3 separate regions of the Homo sapiens genome follow, and all the other regions are linked to region 3. The links are contacts of gene promoters, found by promoter capture Hi-C in blood cells and fetal thymus (Javierre and others, 2016). All regions are on one chromosome and are shown on one strand. Each heading gives the region's core, a stretch centred on a gene start or on the middle of the fragment in contact. The rest is flanking DNA. Distances are from core to core; before and after follow the strand shown.

The links. The method cuts DNA at HindIII sites, captures the fragments that hold promoters and counts their contacts. A CHiCAGO score of 5 or more calls a contact.
Region 1: a contact is called between the fragment with the promoter of TCEA2 here and the fragment with the promoter of PTK6 in region 3, in 6 of 17 cell types (endothelial precursors, activated CD4 T cells, total CD8 T cells and 3 more). The highest score is 10.1, in endothelial precursors.
Region 2: a contact is called between the fragment with the promoter of LKAAEAR1 here and the fragment with the promoter of PTK6 in region 3, in 7 of 17 cell types (M0 macrophages, endothelial precursors, fetal thymus and 4 more). The highest score is 10.5, in M0 macrophages.

What each region holds. Positions count from the first base shown.
Region 1 is chr20:64,061,907-64,064,606 of GRCh38, forward strand. It overlaps TCEA2 (transcription elongation factor A2), which reads left to right and starts at 1,292. Exons shown (of 10, transcript NM_003195.6): 1 at 1,292-1,478. The coding sequence starts at 1,407. RefSeq lists enhancers at 673-802, 813-862 and a silencer at 1,193-1,552. The HindIII fragment of the contact is 9,862 bases long and covers 1-2,700 here.
Region 2 is chr20:64,083,147-64,085,846 of GRCh38, forward strand. LKAAEAR1 (LKAAEAR motif containing 1) reads right to left here and starts at 1,252. Exons shown (of 3, transcript NM_001353425.2): 1 at 672-1,252; 2 at 437-559; 3 at 230-348. The coding sequence starts at 1,073. The coding sequence ends at 289. The region is part of intron 1 of OPRL1 (opioid related nociceptin receptor 1); the gene reads left to right. RefSeq lists silencers at 345-404, 585-664. The HindIII fragment of the contact is 5,360 bases long and covers 1-2,700 here.
Region 3 is chr20:63,535,985-63,538,684 of GRCh38, forward strand. PTK6 (protein tyrosine kinase 6) reads right to left here and starts at 1,392. Exons shown (of 8, transcript NM_005975.4): 1 at 1,101-1,392. The coding sequence starts at 1,330. SRMS (src-related kinase lacking C-terminal regulatory tyrosine and N-terminal myristylation sites) reads right to left here. Exons shown (of 8, transcript NM_080823.4): 8 at 2,505-2,700. RefSeq lists an enhancer at 1,491-1,580 and silencers at 1,701-1,850, 2,181-2,450. The HindIII fragment of the contact is 2,955 bases long and covers 705-2,700 here.

The DNA.
Region 1 (2,700 bases), core at 42-2,541, 530 kb after region 3:
TTTGTAGAGACGGGGTTTCACCATATTGGCCAGGCTGGTCTCGAACTCCTGACCTCAGGTGATCCACCCGCCTGGGCCTCCCAAAGCGCTGGGATTACAGGCATGAGCCACTATTGCCCGGCTAAGATGAGTCTCTTAACTGACCATATTTTCCTTTTCATTTTGGCTGCGGGGAAGCTCAGTTATATGTGATTAGTGCCACAGACAGCCCAAGAAATGCTCAGCCCATTCCACCTGCCACCTGGCCTCATAGTTCGTTGGCCTGAACTTGAATGACTACAGGCTCCTTGATCCACACCCTCCCCCAGGATTGTGCCCTCTCCAGGAAACCACCCAGCATCTGCATTACTGGGGAGCTGCCAGGCAGTGGTGGGGATGCTGGCCCTGCACCTGTCCCCGTCCTCAACCCTCCCTAGGCCTGGGCCATCTCTCTGGCTGCCTGCAGTCTGGCCCTACCTAGGGACCTCCAACAACAATGTCAATGAACACTAATTGTCATGCTCCATCCCCTCTCTGTTCTCAGGCATGTGATGTGAATCAGCTGACATCATCTTGACGGGAGCCCTGTGAGGCGGACACTTAACTCCAGTTTCACAGGTGGGGAGACTGAGACACAGTGGTCAACGTGCAGAGCCCAGAATCTGCTCCCTGGTAGCTGACTTTGCAGGCAGGGGCCTTGCCCACGCAGCCTCGGCAGAGGCCCCCGCACTTCGCGAACCCCAGCAATGGCCCCTTCCAGACGCCACGTCCAGCTACCGCGCGCTCACACCTGCAGGGCCCCACAAGAGGCCTCCCAGTGTGCGCGGGCCTCTTGAAGAAGTAACTCTACTCAGAAGCCCGAATGACCCAAACTGGGCTCTGGGAGGCTGGGGACGGCCTTCTAGGCCAAGTGGGGCGCGCGCAGGGCTCAGCGGGGCCCAAGAGAAGGGCTGAGGGCACTGGGTCCTGAGCCACCCACCGAAGGACGCCGCGGGACAGCAAGGCCCGAAGCAGGAGGAGAGAAGGGAGCAGATTCCTGGGCCTCCTGGGGCCCGGTCGCTCCGGGATGTCTGAGCTCTGGGAGGGGCGTGCCCGGGGCGCCTCCCTCGCGGGGTATTGTGGGATCACGAGTCACTGGCGACGGTGGGTCAGGACTACACTTCCCAGGAGGCTGTGCGCGCCGCGTGGCGCCTGGGAGTTGTGGTCCAGAGCGCGGGCGCGGCGGGCGCGGCAGGCGGGCGCGTGGACTACGCATCCTAGGATGCCGCGCGCGGCCGCGGGGCCGAGGGTTTGAACCGGGGGTCTGTCGTCCGCGGCGGGGCTGCGTCGGCTGCGGCGGGTGTGGGAGGTGGCGACGGCCGGGGCCGGGGTCCTGCCCGGCTGCGGAGGCGGGCGCGACGGGCGCGGGGGTCGCTGCTCCTGAGGCGATGATGGGCAAGGAAGAGGAGATTGCGCGGATCGCCCGGAGGCTGGACAAGATGGTGACCAAGAAGAGCGCGGTGAGGGGCGCGGGCCGCCAGGACCCCGGGAACCCCGCCCCGCCGAGACCCCGTCGAGCCCGCCGACCCCCGTTAGGGCCGGAAGACGACCTGAGGGGCAGGACGAGACCCCTCCCCGGCAGAGACTAACCGGGACGCAGGGGAGACCCCCACCCGTGGCCGAGACCCCTGCCCCGGGCCAGCCCTGCCGTTCACTCCCGCAACCCCGGCAGAGGCCGCGATCAGGCCTGGACCTTGTCCCGGGAGAGCCACCCGCTCTGGACTCAGACCCCTCCCTCGCCCGCAGTCACAGGCTCCGCACCCTTCCCTGTCCCTTAACTCCAGACCCCCAGCCTGGCCCGTCGACTCCTTCCTTGGCCCTGTCCCGCCTCTCGGAGCCCCCGGGGTGTTCGGGCCTCCTCTGCGGGCCGCGCCAGCCCCTTGCCTTCCTCCATCCCGGCCTGGGCATCCTCACAGGCCGAGCCCCGCCCCCCAACTCAGCCCTCTCCCACGCTCCGTCTCTTACAGCGTTTGTCACCCTCCGTCTCCCATAGCATTTGTCGCCGGCAACAGTTTGGAGTCTGAGGTTGGATCCCCTTTTCTTCTGGAGCTTCCGTGCCTCCCCTGCCTCTTCCCAGCCCTTGTCATCCTCCTTCACAGGCCAGCCAGATACCTGTCTTGCCTGTGGGCCCATTTTCTTCCCTGTCTGTCCCCACCCCACAAGAACCAGGTTTCTCTAATAAATTCTCTCCCTTCTTTAGCCAGGACTTAGCCCGCAGCAACTTGGGTTGTGGGTAGTTATGTGGACACCCTCCGAAAAGAGCCGGTGTGCTTATATAAGAGCCAGGAGGTCGGGCAAGCCTCCTCTGGGAGTGTCTGGGCGCTGGAGCCTCTGGCCGGCTCTGTTCACTGCGGCCTGGGCCTCTGTTGTCTTGCGGCCACAGCGAGACTTTGGAGGAGGCTGTGTGTGAGGACTTTGAAGGGGCCAGGTCAGTGGGGGTCCAGTTCCAGCGTCATGACCTTGGCAACCTCTGCACCCTCCCACAGAAGCATCTTTAGAGGATGCTGCCTGCCTCCTGGGGGGTGGGGAGGGGTCTGGCCGCAGGTCATTTGGAGCTCCTGGCTGGCTCAATAAACGTGACCTGTGCTTTCCCACCCAGACTGTGAACTCCTGGGGCAGGGCCAGCTGTGTGTCTGCCAGGCCAGCCCAGGGCGGTGAAGGTGGCTGAGTCATGGGCTTTGG
Region 2 (2,700 bases), core at 2-2,501, 550 kb after region 3:
CCATAGACCCACAGAACGCCAGGTTGCCAGTGGGGGGCAGATCGGGATTAGGGGTAGGCGTGTCCCTGACCTGTTACTTTCACACCCACCCACTTGCGTCTCCCCACTTTTTTGGGAGAGGCCCCACTCTCTGTACCCTGATGTCTGTGAGGTGCATGGGAGAGGCAGCGTCCATACTCCCCGCTTCCCTCGGGGTCCTGGGGAGTGGCAGCAAAAAGACCAGCGAGCCTTCGGAGAATTATAACTTTATGTGGGAGGCTGGGGCGCGTCGCACACTCTCAGTCGCCGTCACCGCGGGAAGATGGTGCCATCCACGTTCTCCTCCAGGATGGTCTCCACGCGCCTCCGCTGCCGGGGAGAGAGGCTGGGGTCCGGCGTGTGCGGAGGCGGGCAGGGCCCCTCCCCTTTCCCCGCCCCTACCGGGGCTTGTCTGCACCTCTTGGCGGTCCAGGGGGTCCGGGATCCGCGCGGGCTTCAGCTGCGGCGGCAGGAACAGCTCCAGCCGGATGGCGGCGCGCGCGGACTTCTGCCGCTGGATGAGCAGCGCGATCTCCTCGGCCTGCGGGGCCCGGGTAGCTGAGCGCGCGCCGAGCCCCGCCCCGCCCCGCCCCGGCCGGCTCCGCTCAACGCTCCCGGTGCGCCCCCTCTGCCCTCCGACCCCCTCGCCTCACCCGCATGCGGGTGTAGCGCAGCCGCAGGGCGCGGACTCGCCCGCGGGCCTCCGCTGCCTTGAGGACGCCGAGGAGCCGGTTCTGGCGCTCGGCGGGCAGCTCGAGCGACTGCGTCCACGGGCGCGGGTCGGGCATGCGGTACCCCGGTTCCACCGACCCGCACGGGAAGGTGGAGGCCGCCGCGCCCACGTCCTCCAGCAGGTCGCCGAAGAGCAGATGGCGGTGGCGCTGCGCAGGGAGCATGGCCGCCAGTCCCTGCGGCGTCAGGGCCCAGCCCGGCTTGGGGGGCTCTGTCGCGGGCGCCCCCTTGGCACGCTCCTCACCCTGCGCCGTGCCTGGCGCGCTCTTCCCGCTTCGCTCCCGCGGGCCCTTGCGCCCGCCCTCCTTCGCTGGCGGCGGCATCCTCCCGCCCTGCGGAGGGAGGAGGGCGTCCCGTCGGTGCCGGGGCTGGCACCGGGCCCTGCCCGCCCCTCGGCAGGGCCCCAACGTGCGCCCCAGCTCCCGCCCGCTGGGCTCTCCGCAGTCGGTTTTGAGTTCCGCACCCCCAGCCTCTGAGCTTTGCCCAGGCGCTCTCCCTCTCCCAAGCGCACGTCCCCAGCAGCTCTGCCATCGGCTGATCCTGCTCAGTCCTGCAGTCAACTAGGACTTTCTGATCAACTCAGTTGTAGGAAATATCTTTCCTACCCGATGGACTGTTCTGTTTGAATTGAGAAAATGCTGAGACCCCACTGGGTTGATCTCAGGCCCTGCCACATGGAGAGCTCTAGGTGACGCCTGGGGGACCTTCGTTGTGCCCCTATGTCTGCGGTCCCCGACAGTCAGGGTCTCCCACCAGACAGCTCGCTCTTGCCCTTCGAGGCCTAGATGGTTGTGGGGAGCAGAGCCTAGAGGGCAGGTGACAGAGGAGGGAGGGTCCAAAAGCCCAGCTGGCTCCTCCCTTCCCGGCCCCAGCCTACAGCTGCCACCTTGTCCAGCCAGGGCTGGGCTCGCTGTGCCAGAGGCAGAGCCACGGCCAGCCCCAGCGGCGGCTAACGCCCCCGCCCCTCCTTAGCTCCTGCAGCCGAGGCCCAGCCCCCACCTCTTGGTCCCTACACCCCCTGCTTGCTGCCTTCTCTGGTCGGAAGAACCTCCGCCGTAGCCCAGACTCTTTGGGCTTGTTGACGCGGTTGCCCAGCAACCGGGAGTCCTGCCCCTCCCTCGACCAGGTGGGGCGGGTCGTGGCGGGGGGCAGGGTCCCCTCCGGAGGGCCCTGGGTTAGAGTCTGGGCGTGGACGCGCCCCTCATAGGGGTCATTGGGGCATAGAGGCATAGAGCCGGCTTCTCCAGCTTGGGTGAGCGTCCTTTCCAGGCGGCCGCAGACGCGCCATCCTAGGGGTTGTGGGCCCAGGTTCCTGGCTTGAGGGGTCTTTGGGGTTAGTTTTGTGGGTGGGGCCCTCGGCTATGAGGAGACCTTTGTGGTTAAGGCCCATTCCCTTCTGATGGCCAGGGGGCTCTGGCCCCAGCCACTGGTGTTCACAGAAAGGGATAATGGGGCAGAACTCAGGACCCCTCACCTCTTCTAGGGCAAGTTTGGGGTCTCAGGGGTCCTGGTGTCCCCAGGACTAGAGCTGGGTTTTGCTGAACACTGTGTCTTGGGATCTTGGGTCCTAGATACTAGATTTTGGAAATCTATTTGTGCATTCCTTTGTTTTGTAACTAATTCTCAATTAACTACTTAATCATTTTATAATTTCTTCAGGCACTCATAAGTGTGTTCTAGAATTTCCTAATTCACGTGCTTATTCCACAGTTTAAATTAGGCAAAAATTAGTGCAAAAAGTCCAATCTGTTACGTATCTATTACTTCCACGAGATGTCTGTACTCTCTCTATATTCACAGACCTGCCGCTGGGACACCTTGCTGGGAGTTTGGAACCTGTGAGTTTGGGAGTAGGGCTGTCCCAGCTGAGGAGCAGGGTCTTAGCTGAGCTTCTGGCCTTTTGGCAGGAGGCTGTTGGGTGTTCCCATTGTTTTTGGGAGACTGCCCTGG
Region 3 (2,700 bases), core at 142-2,641:
CCTGGCCTCCCGCCCCCTCCTCACCTGGCCTCCCGCCCCCTCCTCTCCTGGCCTCCCGCCCCCTCCTCTCCTGGCCTCCCGTCCCCTCCTCTCCTGGTCTCCCGCCCCCCCCACCTGGCCTCCCGCCCCCCCTCACCTGGCCTCCAGCCCCCCCCACCTAGCCTCCCGCTCCCCCCCCCACCTGGCCTCCCACCCCCTCCTCACCTGGCCTCCTCCCCACTTCTCACCTGGGCGAGTTCTCAGGACTCAGGGTCTTTGCACCTGGGAGCTGACCAGCCTCCGGCCAGACCCCACCCCTGCACCCCTGCTCACTAACGAGGTCGTGGGTCTGCGCGTGACCCTGCTAACGAGGTCGTGGGTCTGCACGTAATAGAGGGGTCTCCACCATGGGCCCCTGCCCGACGGCCTCTTTACAGCCTCCCCTGCTTGTTGCTTGGGTCCCCCGGGAGCTAACCCTACACAGCCTGTGACTCACGCACACACACAGTGGGTGCCCAATCACTGATGAGAAACGCGGGATCTCAGGAGCGTGACCCTCCTCAGCCTGAGCTCCGGGCAGCTGTGGAAGCCAGGGCCAGGCCACACCAGCTGCTGTCTGGTTCCCCGCAGGGCACAGCAGGCAGGAAGTTTGCCCGGCAGCCGGCCCGCTCCCCTAACTAGGTCGTGTGTCTGGTTCCGGCACTTTGGAAACTGGGCAAGCTTCAAGCTTCGTTTCCCCCAAAGGCCCTGGAACGCTCCGACAGACCTTGTCACTGGCCACCGGGCCCCAGAAGTCCACCCTGGACCCTCTGTCCTCCCTGGGTCCCGGCAATGCAGCGTCCACCCCCGAGCTGTGACAAGGATGAGCCCAAGGCAGGGGCCGTGCCCTCTGACCCCCGTGCTCCAACTCCCGCAGGGACAGTCCTGGGCACTCCTGGGCGCCAGCGCATGGGGCCTGCAGGGAGGATCAAGCGGGATGCCCAGCCTGGACTTTGGGGTGCAGGAAGATGGAACCGGGGTCCCCACCTTCTTGGGCCTCCCTGAGCAGCCCAGAGCCCTGTCCCTCCCCTGTGCCTAGAGGGTGGCCTGTGCCAAAGCTCCCAGCAGCCTAGGACACGCACGGTTCCGACTCCACCGTCTCCCTCTCGGCCAGGTAGTTGTGGGGCACATAGCCCTGGGCCACGGCCCCACCCGCCTCGTCCAGCAGCGTGGCCCACCACCACTGCTCCTCCTTCCTGGCCACGTGGAAGACGTCCCCCGCGCGGAAGCTCAGCTCCTCGTCCGTCCGGGACTTGAAGTCCCAGAGGCCCACATACTTGGGGCCCAGGTGAGCCTGGTCCCGGGACACCATGGCGGGCGGGCGCAGCGGCAGGACCAGGCTGTGGCCCAGCTGGAGCACCCAGAGCTGGGCGTGGCAGGCGGGCCGTCCCACTTCCTCATGACAGGCCGGGAAGCAGCCACACCCAGCACCCACAGGCGCTCCAGAGCACCCCGGCTCCTCCTGAGGGCCCAGCCGGCCCCACAAGTCCTCAGGCCCACTGGGGCCCATCTGAGCACTTAGCGCCCGCACTATGGGAACCCACTGGGCAAGCACCGCCAGGGCCGGCCTGAGCGCAGGAGAGGGGGAGGAGGACCTCCCGGTTGGGGCTTCTTGGGGGTCCAACTTATGGACACTCAGGCACTCAGGGAAGCCAACGGCCCTCTGGGAACAAGCCTCGCAGCCTGAGGGCAGGAAGGTGAGGGCTGCAGGCGCTGCCTTCCCAACCCTCAGAGCTGCGGGGGCACAGGTGGGGGCCGCCTCTCTCCCCGCTTCCGGCAGCTTCCCCTCCACCCGTCGGTGCCCTCACCCAGCCCCAGACTCCACCCCTGAGCACAGGGCCCAATGTCAGGAGCTGCTGTGGGCAGGCGTCCTGAGAGCGGCCTCATGGGCAGGCCCGCCCTCGGGTAAGGGCCAAGCAGGGAAGAGGGAGTGGAATCAGGGCAGCGACAGCTGTGTGGGTCGGCCCGGAGGACTTCCCGGAAGAGGAGGGCCCGAGGGTTTTGGGGGATCCCCGGGGAGGCAGAGCCAGGGGCACCCACGGCTGAAGAAACGGGCACTGCCTTCCTCCACACGGACGCCAGGGGGCAGGCAAGGACCGTGAGTGCGGCCTGGAAGCGCCCATGGCGCTGGGGCCCAAGGCCACAGGTCCCTCCCAGGCAGCCCCTCCCGCCTCCAGCCTCTGCCTCCTCCTGTCCAGCCCGCAGGACCCCTGCCCCCTTCCAGCTGGCCTCCCTTCTCCCGACTCATGCCTGAGTGAGCCCTGCCGTGACCCCCACCTGCACCCGACGGCCGCCTGCCCCCCAGCCCCTGAGACTCGGGACACCCCCTCCCTGGAGGCCCCTCCCCGCCCCACCCTCCCACTGACCCTACTGTGTCCACCCGGGAGCTCCAACCCAGGGACCTGGACTGGCAGCCACAAGGGGGCAGGAAGGGGCGGGAAGGGAAATTCAAAGTCTGCAAGGGGTGGTAAGGAAAGTCCCTAAACTGCGTATTTCAACTTTTATTTTTATTGCAAAGAGAAATAATGGCACCTTCCACTCATTGTTTTGAGATTAAGAACAATAATCTGGATTATTTAACAGGCTCATAGATTTCTGGGCAGCCCAGCTCAGCGCTGACCAAGGTGGGGAGGGGCAGCGGGGTGCCGGCCTGGGCAGTGTCCCTCAGGCCCTCCCAGCTCT